Linked DNA regions of Homo sapiens: region 2 is linked to region 1. Evidence: promoter capture Hi-C in 16 types of primary human blood cells and fetal thymus (Javierre and others, 2016). All regions are on one chromosome and are shown on one strand. Each heading gives the region's core, a stretch centred on a gene start or on the middle of the fragment in contact. The rest is flanking DNA. Distances are from core to core; before and after follow the strand shown. Region 1 holds the start of RTL9 (retrotransposon Gag like 9). Region 2 has its middle 81 kb from the start of TMEM164.

Region 1 (6,017 bases), core at 1,183-3,682:
AAGTGCTGGGATTACAAGTGTGAGCCACCACACTGGCCAACTAGAGGAATAACTTTTAGTGATGTATTGCACTACATGGTAACCACAGTTAATAATAATATATTGTGTATTTCAAAATTGGTAAAAGAATAGCTTTTTAATGTTCTTACCACAAAATAATGATAAATTAGCGAGGTGATAGATATGTTCATTAGCTTGATTGAATCTTTCTATAATATACACATAGATCAAAACATCACATTGTACCATATATATATATACACACCTTATCATTTGTCAATTAAAAATAGTTTTGAAAGGAAAAAATAATAATATTTTGTAAGTATTATCATATTTAATGTCCACATCCCTTATGACATATAATATTATTATCCTCATTTTACAGATGAGATAACTAAAGCTCAGAGAAGTGCAGTTACTTGCCTGAGGTTGCATAGTTAGCAAGAGAGCAGAAGGAAAATGGAATCACTTCTCCCTGATTTTCAAGTCTGTGTACCTAACTACTACATTACAAATTTTGCATTCTTATATTAAAATATTGAAATGAGTAGCTCAATGAATTTAGCATCTATTTTTAAGCATTTTGAGAATTACTTTTCAAAATTCTTCATTTCTTTCTTCTTTCTTCAAACTAATTCATTAGTTTGAATTTTGCAAATAGAAAAATGAGAACTGAGTATGTATACATTAGCTTAGATCTATTAGTATAGATCACACATATACATGAAATTTAACACTCTATTTTTGAAAGATTTAAATGAAAATTTAATAACATTTTTAGATAAATACATGGGAAAATCAAATATTTGGTGGTCCTCCAAAGTAACGTAGGTGTATCTAATATGTTTCACAGCAAGTGTTGAGTGATAGATATACATAAAATCAGAAAAGAAAAAGTAACCACTTCATAAATCTTATAAATTGTGCCTTTTTACACTTTTTACTTTTTTAAAAGTATTTCAGCTTTTAATTTATTTGATTAGAACCATTTGAGAGACTGTTTCCTTGATATGAAATGCAAGCACACTCATTAGTGATCATGGTCAAGACCAAATGGCCAGTTTCTGCCAGCAAACGATTAACTTTGATGACAGATGTGTAAACCAAAAATAATTAAATTATTTGGTAATCATTCTTCCTTGCTGTAGGCTTTAAATAGTATTAGATCTTTGGGCATGAAATATATTTAATCCAGTTGTTAGATATAGTTACATTTTCAAAGCTGGATGAATCTTGTATTCTCACTGAGTACAGTTCTCCAACTGATGTGTCAAGGATGATGCTTGTATAACTATAGGAGGGAAATCCTCTGTGATTAATGCATGCAGGAGAAAATACTATGCTCTTCCCTGTGGGTGCAGGGCATGTTTCTACATACCCACATTGTGTGGGAAGCAGAGTGGTTATACTTGCCCTTCTTGGATTTTTTCTCAAGGCAAGACCCTGGCCTCATCCTCCAAATGCATGTTCCAGTCCCTCTCTCACATCAGGGGTGTTTACGAGACTGACTTGGATAACTTTTGCAAAATATACTTGCCTGGCCCTCTGTCTCCCCATTGGACATTTGTTTCATGAGGAGTATCATTTCTAGGGTAAAAGCAAGGATTTTGAAAAAAAATTCTTTGCCATTTTATCAGAAGAATTATATTTAATGAAATTAAAAATAAAAATAGGTGATTTTGATGTTCACCCTAGGCTAAGAGGACCACTGCTGTCTTTGAGGCATTTACAGACATATGGAAATCTGAAGCATACTTAGAGTTGCGGGTTCTTTCTCTGTAATTCTTTTAAACTGGGCATAAACCTCAAAGGGAGTGTAAAATGCAGAGTGTTGTCAACTTATCACACCAAGAATATTTTTTTGCACCTTTTTAGTTTGGAAGGGTCAAATTGAGATGACAGAGGAATAGTGGATAAGAGCTATAGTGCTATTAAATTACATTCTAGAGTTGGGAAAATCGAGACCCATAATCCTAGGAATTATTAATGATAAGAGCTAACACTTTCTGAGTGCTTACCACATGCCAGGCCCTATACTGAATGCATCATGTCCATTTTCTCATTTGATCCTGACAACCACCTGTGAGGCCTCATTTTGAAGACAAGCAAGCTGAGGCTCAGACCTTGGATTTGTCCAAGGTCACTCAGTTGGTCATTTACAGAGCCCTGATTCAAACTCTCTTTTGCTTGATTACAAAGCCATTGCTCTAAAAGATTAGATTATACTGTCTGTATTTGCTTCTGGGAGCTTATGGAATTCACTCCTATCTGTTCTCACAAGGAACTCTATTGGGTTTTGAAAAAGGCTAAAGAATTGAAAAGAAACTTTGTAGGCTGGGAAACATAGTGTCCTTTGAGCAGTGAGATAGGCTAAGCTCAGAGGACTGGGCTCTGGAATGTGGAAAGGAGACGTGCCCACTGGAGAGCAAGTCAGAACTTTCGTGAGCCCTGCTCCAGGTCCCAGGAGAAAGTGCCAGCCATGAGGACTGGAGTATTGCCTGGTAAGGAGAAGATTATTATTTTATCTAACACGTTCTTCTATAACGCTCTATATGCTAGGCACTGGTCTGCACTGCTCTAAGTACTTTATAAGTATTAACTCCTTTACATCTTATAACACTTCCCTGGAAATAGGCATTATTATTGCCCCCATAATACATATGAGTAAACTGAAGTTCAGAGATGTTAAATAACTTGTTCAAGGTCACATAGCTGGTTAAGTGCCAGAGCCAGGCTTTGAACCTAGGCAGTCTGGATCTAGTGGCTGTGTTATACTGCTTCGCAACAGAAACTTGATTTTTCTTTCTTCTGTGTTTATCATCCTTTCTCAATCACTCCTGGGCAAGTCTACTTTGCTAGCAAATTTCCCTTACCCCTTTGGCTTTTTTTTCACCCATGAACCCTCTAATGTTTTCTGCAGCTTCTTTGAGCTCATTCTTTATCTTCCACACTGCCTCTTTTGGCATTACTCATGAACGACATGCTCTTTTCATCTGCCAAATATTTTTTCCATAAATTATCCCATCTCAACTTGGGAAGTCACAATGGGAAGTATTGTTCCTATTTTGTGAATGAGGCAACTAAGGCAAGCAACTTTCCTGAAGTCTCACACAACCATCTAGTGGCAAAGTGCACTAGAATCCAGATTCTCTGATTCTGAATCTAATGTTCTTGTCCATTGCACCATCTGATGGAATTTAACTATCTATTCATTAATTAATTTATTCATTAATATTGTAAAAATATACTGAGTGTCTTACTGTATGGTAAGGCCCTGGGTGCAAAAGTCGGTATAAAAATTGTTGCTCTTAAGCAACAGACAACACAGAGAGATAAGGTCTCACCATAAAAAGTTAAATAGCAGCACATATACTAAGTGCCAAATGAGTGGTCTGGTCACATCATACAAGAATTTTGAGGTTGGATATGTAGCATCAAAGACTGCTTTATCAGAAAGGTGAGACTTGAACTTGGCATAGAAGGGTACTTAGAACTTAGAGAAGAGAATGGAGCAGCACTTTCCAAACTCTGGGAATGGTGTGCATTAAAGCAGTCCTTCACAACCTTTATTGTGTCATGGCATGCAGAGAAAAGCATAGTATTTGTAAAGCACACTAGGCTGAATGGAGGAAGCAGTTTGACATCTAGAGGCAAGCATTCTAGGAGTTTCAACAGCACTGTCTCTGGGCTCAGTTGAGGACAGAGAAGAAATCTCATAGCCTCAGACACTTGTAATATGTTTGGGAAGGTCTGCACTAGGTATTGGGGGCACACTGTGGTCATGGTGGGTCTAAAGACCACTGACAAGCCCACAGGGATGAAATGAGGGGAATTTCCAGAGAAGCCATAGTAGATACCATTGGAAAGAAAAGTTATGGGCAAATGATGAAGGGCTTTTGAATTTTATTCTGTGGACCTACAGAATAGGTAGGCAAAATATGCATAGCACTGTTTTAGAAAGATTCCACTGGTTTTCATATGGGAGATTAACTAGAGGGAAGAAGAGTAGTCAAGAGGCTATTACCATTGTCCAGGTGGGAGGTGATGTTATCTTGAACTAGATTGATAGTAATAGAGACAGAGAATGGTGGACAGAATTGAGTTATATTTTGGAGGTAAAAATGTCAGGGTTTGGTAATAGAATTGCATAATGGAGAGTAGAAGAAAGGGAGGTGACAAGGAGGATTTCAAATTTTCAAGTTTAAGCAAATGCTTATGAATAGTGATGCCATTCTTTAAGATAGAGAGCCCAGGAGAAGTAGAAAGATTTTTTTGGAGGGGAAGGACAAATGAGATGATGAGTTTCAAGTTGACATTTGGAGGCAAGGAAACCAGTTAGGAGGCTATTGTAAAAGCCAAGTAAGACAAGGTGAGATCCTGGACTACAATGGTAGCAGTGGGAATGGAAGGAAAATGGTGAATTGAGAGACATTATACAGGAAGAATTGATAGGATTTTGTCACGGACTGACTTCTGGAGTTGAAAGGTAGAGGAAGGCTTGAAGCCTAAGATATCTTCTGTCCTTTATCTTCTTAGTGATGCTCCGATCTTCGTGGCTTAATATACTATCTATTTGCTGATGAGTCACAAATTTGTATCTCCATACTTTTATGCCCAATTGCCTGCTGGACATATCAACTTGCATGCCTAATAGGTATCTCCAACTTACCATGTTCAAAACTGCCCCTGCCCACAACCCCCAACAAAACCTGCTGCACTCACAAAACCTGCTCCTCACAGTCTTCCCCGTCTCCCTAAATACCAATTTCATTCTTCCGGTTGCTCAGGCGGAAGACCTAGGAATCAATCTTGATTTTTCCCTCTTTCATATCCTACATTTATTTGATCAGCAAATCTTATTGGTTCTACCTTCAGAATATATCTAGAATCTGACCACTTTTTCATTGCTACTATCCTGGTTTATGTCACAATGATCTGCTTCCTGGATTATATTGCACTAGCCTCTCAACTGTTCTCCTTGCTTCTGTTCTTGCCACCATCACTCAAGCCTATTATTCTCTCACTGTTTTTTGGAACCAGGATAATTTTATTATGTGAATGTCAGATCATGTCACTCCTCTGCTCAAAACTCCTCCAATGGCTTCCCATCTGACACTCAGTAACAACAAAACCCCTTATAATGGCCCATAATGCTGTATGCAACCCAGATATTGACATACTCCTGTCCTTCAGGTGATGGATCAAATATCCCACTTGGTAAAATCTTCTCTGATTACCATATTTAGTATTGCAAGCGCCTTCTCGCCATTCTCTATCTGCCTTCCATGTTTTATTTCTTTATACTTTGAATACTAGCAGATGTTATATGTTTATCTATTTATTTGTTTATCATCTATCTCCTTCTGCTAGAACAGGAGCTGGAAAACTTTTTCTGTAAAGGTCCAGATAATAAATATTTTAGGCTTTGTGAGCCACGTAATCTTTAACACAACTACCTACCTCTATCATTGTTATACAAAAGCTGCCATAGATGAGCATGGCTGTGTTCCAATAAAACTGTATTTACCAAAACAGGGAGCGGGCTAGATTTAGCTAATGGGCCATAGTGTACTGACCCCTGCTAGAATGTAAATTCCAGGAGGGCAAGGACTTTTGTTTACTGCTGTATCTCCAACATCTAGAATAGTACCTGGCATATAGTAGGCACATGATTTATTTTACTGAATGAATGCATCAGTGGGAGATTGGAAAGCTGTGGAATAAAAAATATATATATATAACAGAGCCATTGATGGTGCAGAATCCTGAACAAAATCTAGCTTTGGATGGGTTTGCAGCATATCAACTCTCCTTCCTTCTTTTTCCCCTCATCCCTACACTAAAACTTAAGCTTGTTATATAAAGTAAAAGTTGCTTTCATTGCCTGTGCAATTCTCCCAATGTGTGAAATTTCATCTGACTTCCTTTAATGTTGTCATTTGTCTATTTAACCCTCCTGACTCAGACTCCCTCTAATAACAATAATAACTCAAATACTCTGTACTAAAACCAGAACG
Region 2 (6,017 bases), core at 1,623-4,122, 440 kb before region 1:
GCAAAAGTGTATAATACAACCACCACAGAGGGCAATTTGTCAATATTTGTTAATATTTCTAAAAGTATTTACCTTTCTGGTTTTTTATCTTACAGGCTGACTTTCACACTTCAGGAAGCACCTCATGTGCAGGATTATTCCTTGCAGTATTGTTTATAATAGTGAAAGGTTGGAAACAACCCAAGTGTCCATCTATAGGGAACTGAATAAATAAACAATGGTACATTCATGCAATGTAATGTTACGCAGTTGTTTAAAAAAATGGTTGAGGAAACTGTGTCTGTACTGATATTGAAATATCTCCATGATATATACTACATTGAAGGAGGAAAATATGGAAGACTCGTGTACATATCTGTACAAATAATAAAAAGTTATACAAGAAGTTAATGAAAGTGGTTACCTACTAGAGGCAAGGGGATTGAACAAAAAAAACAGGTAAATTAAGACAGAGGAGGAGAAAGACTTCTTAATGTATTCCTTTTACATAGTTTCGAATTTTGAATCACTTAAATGTACTGCTTATTTGAAAACATTACATTGTGAGACAAACATCCCTTCTTTTTATACATTTGAAGAGACAAACTTATTCCCTGAAACAAAGTAATGTGCTTCTCCAGGGACACTTGCATCCAAACAGGGAATTAAAACGAAAGCCAAAGAAATCAAACATGAATGATGAATTTTTTTTTTTTGAGACAGGGTCTCGCTCTGTTGCCCAGGCTGGAGTGCAGTGGCATGACCTTGGCTTACTGCAACCTCCACCTCTCAAGTTCCAGTGATTCTCCTGCCTCAGCTTCCCGAGTAGCTGGGGTTACAGGCATGCGCCACCATGACCGGCTAATTTTTGTACTTTTAGTAGAGACGGGATTTCACCTTGTTGGCCAGGCTGGTCTCGAACTCCTGACCTCAGATGATCCACCTGTCTCGGCCTCCCAAAGTGCTGGGATTACAGGCGTGAGCCACCGTGCCCAGCCAAATGAAATTTCAAGTAGCAGCAGTAAGTATTCCAGTGAGGGAGAGGGAAGGGAGCCTCCTCAGTACTTCTGAAACTTTATTCCCATTGTAACTTGACTCAGGCCTTCCATTTCCTGAGCGTGGCCTCTGCTCTGATCCCGTTTGCCACCCTGTCCGTACATTCAGCAAACAGAACTGAGAAGCTAGGTTCCTCTAACCCAGAGCTAACACCAGGCCCCCAGTTGTCCCAATATTCACAAATGCTAACTGTAGCTGGTCAAATAAATTTCTTTTATAAATGGAGAATCGAGGCCTTTTGAAGAAATATATGTGGAATTGAAATGTAGAAAGGTGCGCTCTGCCTTCCAGAAACAGAAAATAAAAAGATAGGAAAAGAAAAAAGCTATAGCTATTGACACCAAAGCCTGAGCAATTTATTTGCTGCAAATCCCATAATCACAAACATTTCAGAGCTGTAATTCTGCCTGATTACCCTGTGCTGTCAGGGGGGTGGAAAAACCCAGAAGATTAATGTTTTGTATGGCAATAAGGCGGCAGGCCTGCAACTCTGAGCTTATCGCCCATGAATCAGGAGCCGGGCTGAGAAGCTTCAGGAGACAGCAGCATTTTATAATGATTTTTTTATGGAAAGAATGCTGTCAAGCCCAGATTCATTAGTTTCTACCAACACTGGTTTCTTCAGCAGACAGTCAGGCCAAATCTCCCTGTGCACAACCCCCCTTCTCCAGTTTATTCTGTGGCATCAGAGTATCTGGGGCGGGTGGTATATGTACATAAGGGGCAGGGTTGGTTGAAAAGGGAGAAACCACTTCGAGTGTGAGCTTTAGCTTCTAACCTTCTGTTAAAAGGCTGGTGCTTCAGGAACTGCTGTAAAGCTACTAAAATGGGAAGCCAGCTTCAGATAGTTGTTTCTAGTTCTTTCATAAGGCACATTAGGAAAGGGTGGCCCATTTAAGACAAGGACTACTGTTCGGTTGACCTATCTGTTGACCCAAAGCATTTCCACTCTAGCACCCAGAATTTAAGTACAACCTTTATACATCTTCCTATTTAAATAGTAATACTATCCAAAATTTCAATGTAGAGCTATACTACATATAAGCTGTGTGACTCTGGAAAAGTTACTTAACCTCTCTGAGGCTCAAATTATCTATAAAATGGGGATAATAATATTTATCTAAGAAGACTGTCGTGAGGATAAAATGAGATGAAGTTATGCATGAAGAATGCCTGACACTCATTAAATAGCCTTCATTATTCAAGATATCATGGTTCAGAAATTAACTTCACCATTTACTAAACAAGTTACCTTGGGCAAGTTACCTAATTTCTCTAAATGTCAGTTTCCACATCTGTAAAATGAAGAGGAAAATCTTCATGACTCTATGAGGTAGGTACCATTAATCACAAGTTAATTACTTAGCACACAGCTTGGGCAACATGGCAAAACCTCATCTCTACAAAAAATACAAAAATTAGCTGGGTGTGGTGACATGCACCTGTAGTCCCAGCTACTCAGGAGGCTGAGGTAGGAGGATTGCTTAAGCCCAGGAGGTTGACACTGCAATGAGCCATGATCACACCACTGTGCTCCAGCCTGGGCAACAGAGTGAGACTCTGTCTCCAAAAAAAAAAAAAAAAAAAAGACACGGTGCCCAGCGTTGTAATCATTCAAGAAATGAGAGCAACTAGGAGCAGTAGTAGGAGTAGTAACAAGCAGAAGAGGAGGAGGAAGAGGAGAAAAAGAAGGAAGATAGAAATGTACATAAAATCTGCAGGAAGAAAGATTTAGACATAAGAATTTAGGGACATAAGTTTAGACATAAGAATTTAGGGACTCAATTTTTGTTTGTTTGTTTTATAGAGACAGGGTCTCTGTCACCCAGGCTGGAGTACAGTGGTGCAATCATGGCTCACTGCAGCCTCACACTCCTTGCCTCAAGCAATCCTCCCACCTCAGCCTCCCAAGCAGCTGTGACTACAGGCATGCACCACCACACCCGGCTGTTTTTTTTTTTTTTTTTTTATTTTTGTGGAGATGGGTTCTCACTATGTTGCCCAGACTGGTCTTGAACTCCTGGCCTCAAGTGATCCTTCCACCTCAGCCTCCCAAAGTGCTGGAATTAATGTCCTGAGCCACCTCACCCAAGACAGGGTCTTGCTATGTTGCCCAAGCTGGTCTCAAACTCCTGATCTCAAATGATCCTCCTATCTCAGCCTCTCAAGTAGCTAGGACTGCAGACACAAGCCACCACACTTGGCTGAATTTGTTTTTCAAAATAAAGTGTTTTGTTTTTTTTTTCTGAAAAAAAAATCATCTCCCCCACCCTCCACCAATCTCTCTCTCTCTCTCGCTCAAAATCTATGACTCCACACTCCTTAGTCGTGTAGGCTATCTGTCCTCTTCACATTTTGCCAGCATCATCTGCTGTCCCTTTCCCCAGTGCTACTGCTTAGACAGGAAGTCCCTTGAGTTCTCATGCCTGAACATGCAACAATATTTATACTATTCTTATTATACTACCATTTATAATATTATTTATCCTATTTATTGAGCACTTGCCATGTGCTAAGCACCTTACATGTGTTATCTACACCAGTCTACAGGCTCCATGGTGAGCAAGACCATCATTCTTATCTATTTACTTCTCTCCTCCCAGTGTCTAGCACAGTGCTTGGCACATGGCCGGCCCTGAATACATATTTTTGATGCGTGAATGAATCTAATCCTCACTACAATTCTATGAGATAGGTGTAACTATTGTTTCCATTTTACAGAAAAGAAACCAAGGCTCAGATACATTAAGTCATAAAATTTGTAAGTTTGAGCCTCAGACACCAGCATGTCTGACACCGTAGGCTCAGCTTGGAGCCCTTCCCTTGTCCACCTTACTTTCCCTAATACATACCATTACTTCTCATGCCTTCAGTCCTCTGCACATGTTGCCTGGAATGTCCTTTTCTCTGTGTCCATCTGATAAATTCATCCTTCAAAACTACTCTACTTTTTGTATTATTCTTAAAAATATTTATGGTGGCTTTCAAAATGCATAAAATGGGAAGAAAAAATACAAAATCATGGCAAAAAATACTCAGGGTAAGGAAAAGGAACAAAAATCCAGGGGAAGGACAAGATTCACCTAGAAAAATGCCTGCCAAAAGATTCTTCCAATGCTAGAGACGTAGACCACAAATATATTTCTAAGCTTTCCGGCAGCCAATGCAAAGATAGAAATCTGATTAGTTACAGGATTCACAGCATCCATAAGTTTAAAAAATACCCTCCCCACTTTAAGAGCTCAGGGTTTTTTTTTCCTGATATTTGAGAGAAATATCTTCAGAAGATTCCCAGAAAAGAGGGTACCATAAGATGTAGTAGATGGCAATCTTTACAACAGTCTTACAATGAATTTGATAGCAAATTGCTTTTTAAAATATCTTTCATTGCAGGCTAGAGTGAGCTGTGATCATGCCACCGCACTCCATCCTGGGCAATGGGAGTGAGACCCCATCTGAAAAACAAAAACAAAAACAAAAAAAAATGAAAAAAAAAAACAAAGGCCCTCAATAGGGCCCTTCTTTGTTCCCGTAATGCCTTATCCTTCCTTCTATCAGGCTCTGCATTGTAGTTCTTATATATCTGTATTCTGTCAGACTGAGAGCTTTTTGAGGACAGGTAGCATACCTTGACTATCCCTGATATCCCTTGTGCCTCAATTCCCTTATCTATAAAATGGAGACGATAATGGCACTTACTGCCTTGGGTTGTTAAGATGAGTAAATGAGTTAATGTGGGAAAAATGCTTGGGACAGTACCTAGTGCATGGTGATGACACAGTAAGTATTAGAATTATTTTATCTTCAGCAAATACAATGTCTGGCATCAGGCATTCAATCAATAGGTACTAGATGAATGCATACATAGATCAATGCATAAGCCTATGATGGAAGCTGGTGAACTCTCTTTTCCTAGAGAGCACTTAAACTATGGAAGAAAACCATTAGTGACCATTACTGTTAATTTGTTTTTTGTCTTTTGCTTTTTTTTTTGAGATGGAATGTCTCACTCTGTCACCCACGCTGGAGTGCAGTGATGTGATCTCGGCTCCCTGCAACCTCTGCCTCCCGGGTTCAAGAGATTCTCCTGCCTCAGCCTCCCGAGTAGCTGGGATTACAGGTATGTACCACCACGCCCAGCTAATTTTTGTATTTTTAGTAGAGATTGGGTTTCGCCATGTTGACCAGGCTGGTCTCAAACTCCTGACCTCAAGTGATCCGCCCCCTTCGGCCTCCCAAATGCTGGGATTACAGGCATGAGCCACTATGCCTGGCCCCCATTAGCGTTAATTTGCTTAACCCCCTTAAGCCTTTACTCAAAGATAACTTTTCGGTGAGGCTTTCTCCAACCCCAGTACCTCAAAACATTTCCTATATCTCCTTCCCTGCTTTATATTTTGCCTTGGCCCTTGACCCTATCTAAGATACTACAAGTTTAATTATTTATCATGTTTATTCCTGCCTTTCCAATTAAAATGTAAGCTTCCAAAAGCCAGGGATTTTGTTTGTTTCTGGAGAAAGACCTGGTAAATAGTAGATTATCAATAAAATTGATTGAATTGAATGCATAATCATATGGAAACAGGGCAGGGCAGTGCAGGGACTAGGATAGGGCAAGCTCTCAGGGTAGTGTGCTGAGCCTACATTTGCATGGTCTCAGAGTAAATGCCTCCTTAAAATTTGCAGCCGAGGCACCTCCTTGCTCACCCCAGTCCCAGCCCTGAAGCAGGGAATAGACCAGATCACCTAGTGAGATCTGTCTACTCCCAGGCAGTGGCATGCTGGTAGATGTTTATCAACCAGCTCTTTTAGGTTGGTAAGGTGGGGGAAGCCTTGATTTGTAATGTTTGCCAATATTCCCATCATGGCCAATTTCAAGCTATCAACAGAATGTTTATGAACAGAGTTGGGAAGAGATGTGCCCAGTGGGCTCTTGTGAGCTGGTACAAGTTGGCTCTAGCGCACCACTGAACAGGATTCTT

Evidence for each region. The method cuts DNA at HindIII sites, captures the fragments that hold promoters and counts their contacts. A CHiCAGO score of 5 or more calls a contact.
Region 2: a fragment that was not itself captured here is called in contact with the fragment with the promoter of RTL9 in region 1 in 1 of 17 cell types (M2 macrophages); the score reaches 5.0 in M2 macrophages.

What each region holds. Positions count from the first base shown.
Region 1 is chrX:110,356,416-110,362,432 of GRCh38, forward strand. RTL9 (retrotransposon Gag like 9) reads left to right here and starts at 2,433. Exons shown (of 4, transcript NM_001385449.1): 1 at 2,433-2,501. It also overlaps a transcript of AMMECR1 not described here. The HindIII fragment of the contact is 7,244 bases long and covers 1-5,849 here.
Region 2 is chrX:109,919,015-109,925,031 of GRCh38, forward strand. No RefSeq gene overlaps it. Among named protein-coding and RNA genes, the nearest start is that of TMEM164, 81 kb to the right of the region's middle. The HindIII fragment of the contact is 2,619 bases long and covers 1,564-4,182 here.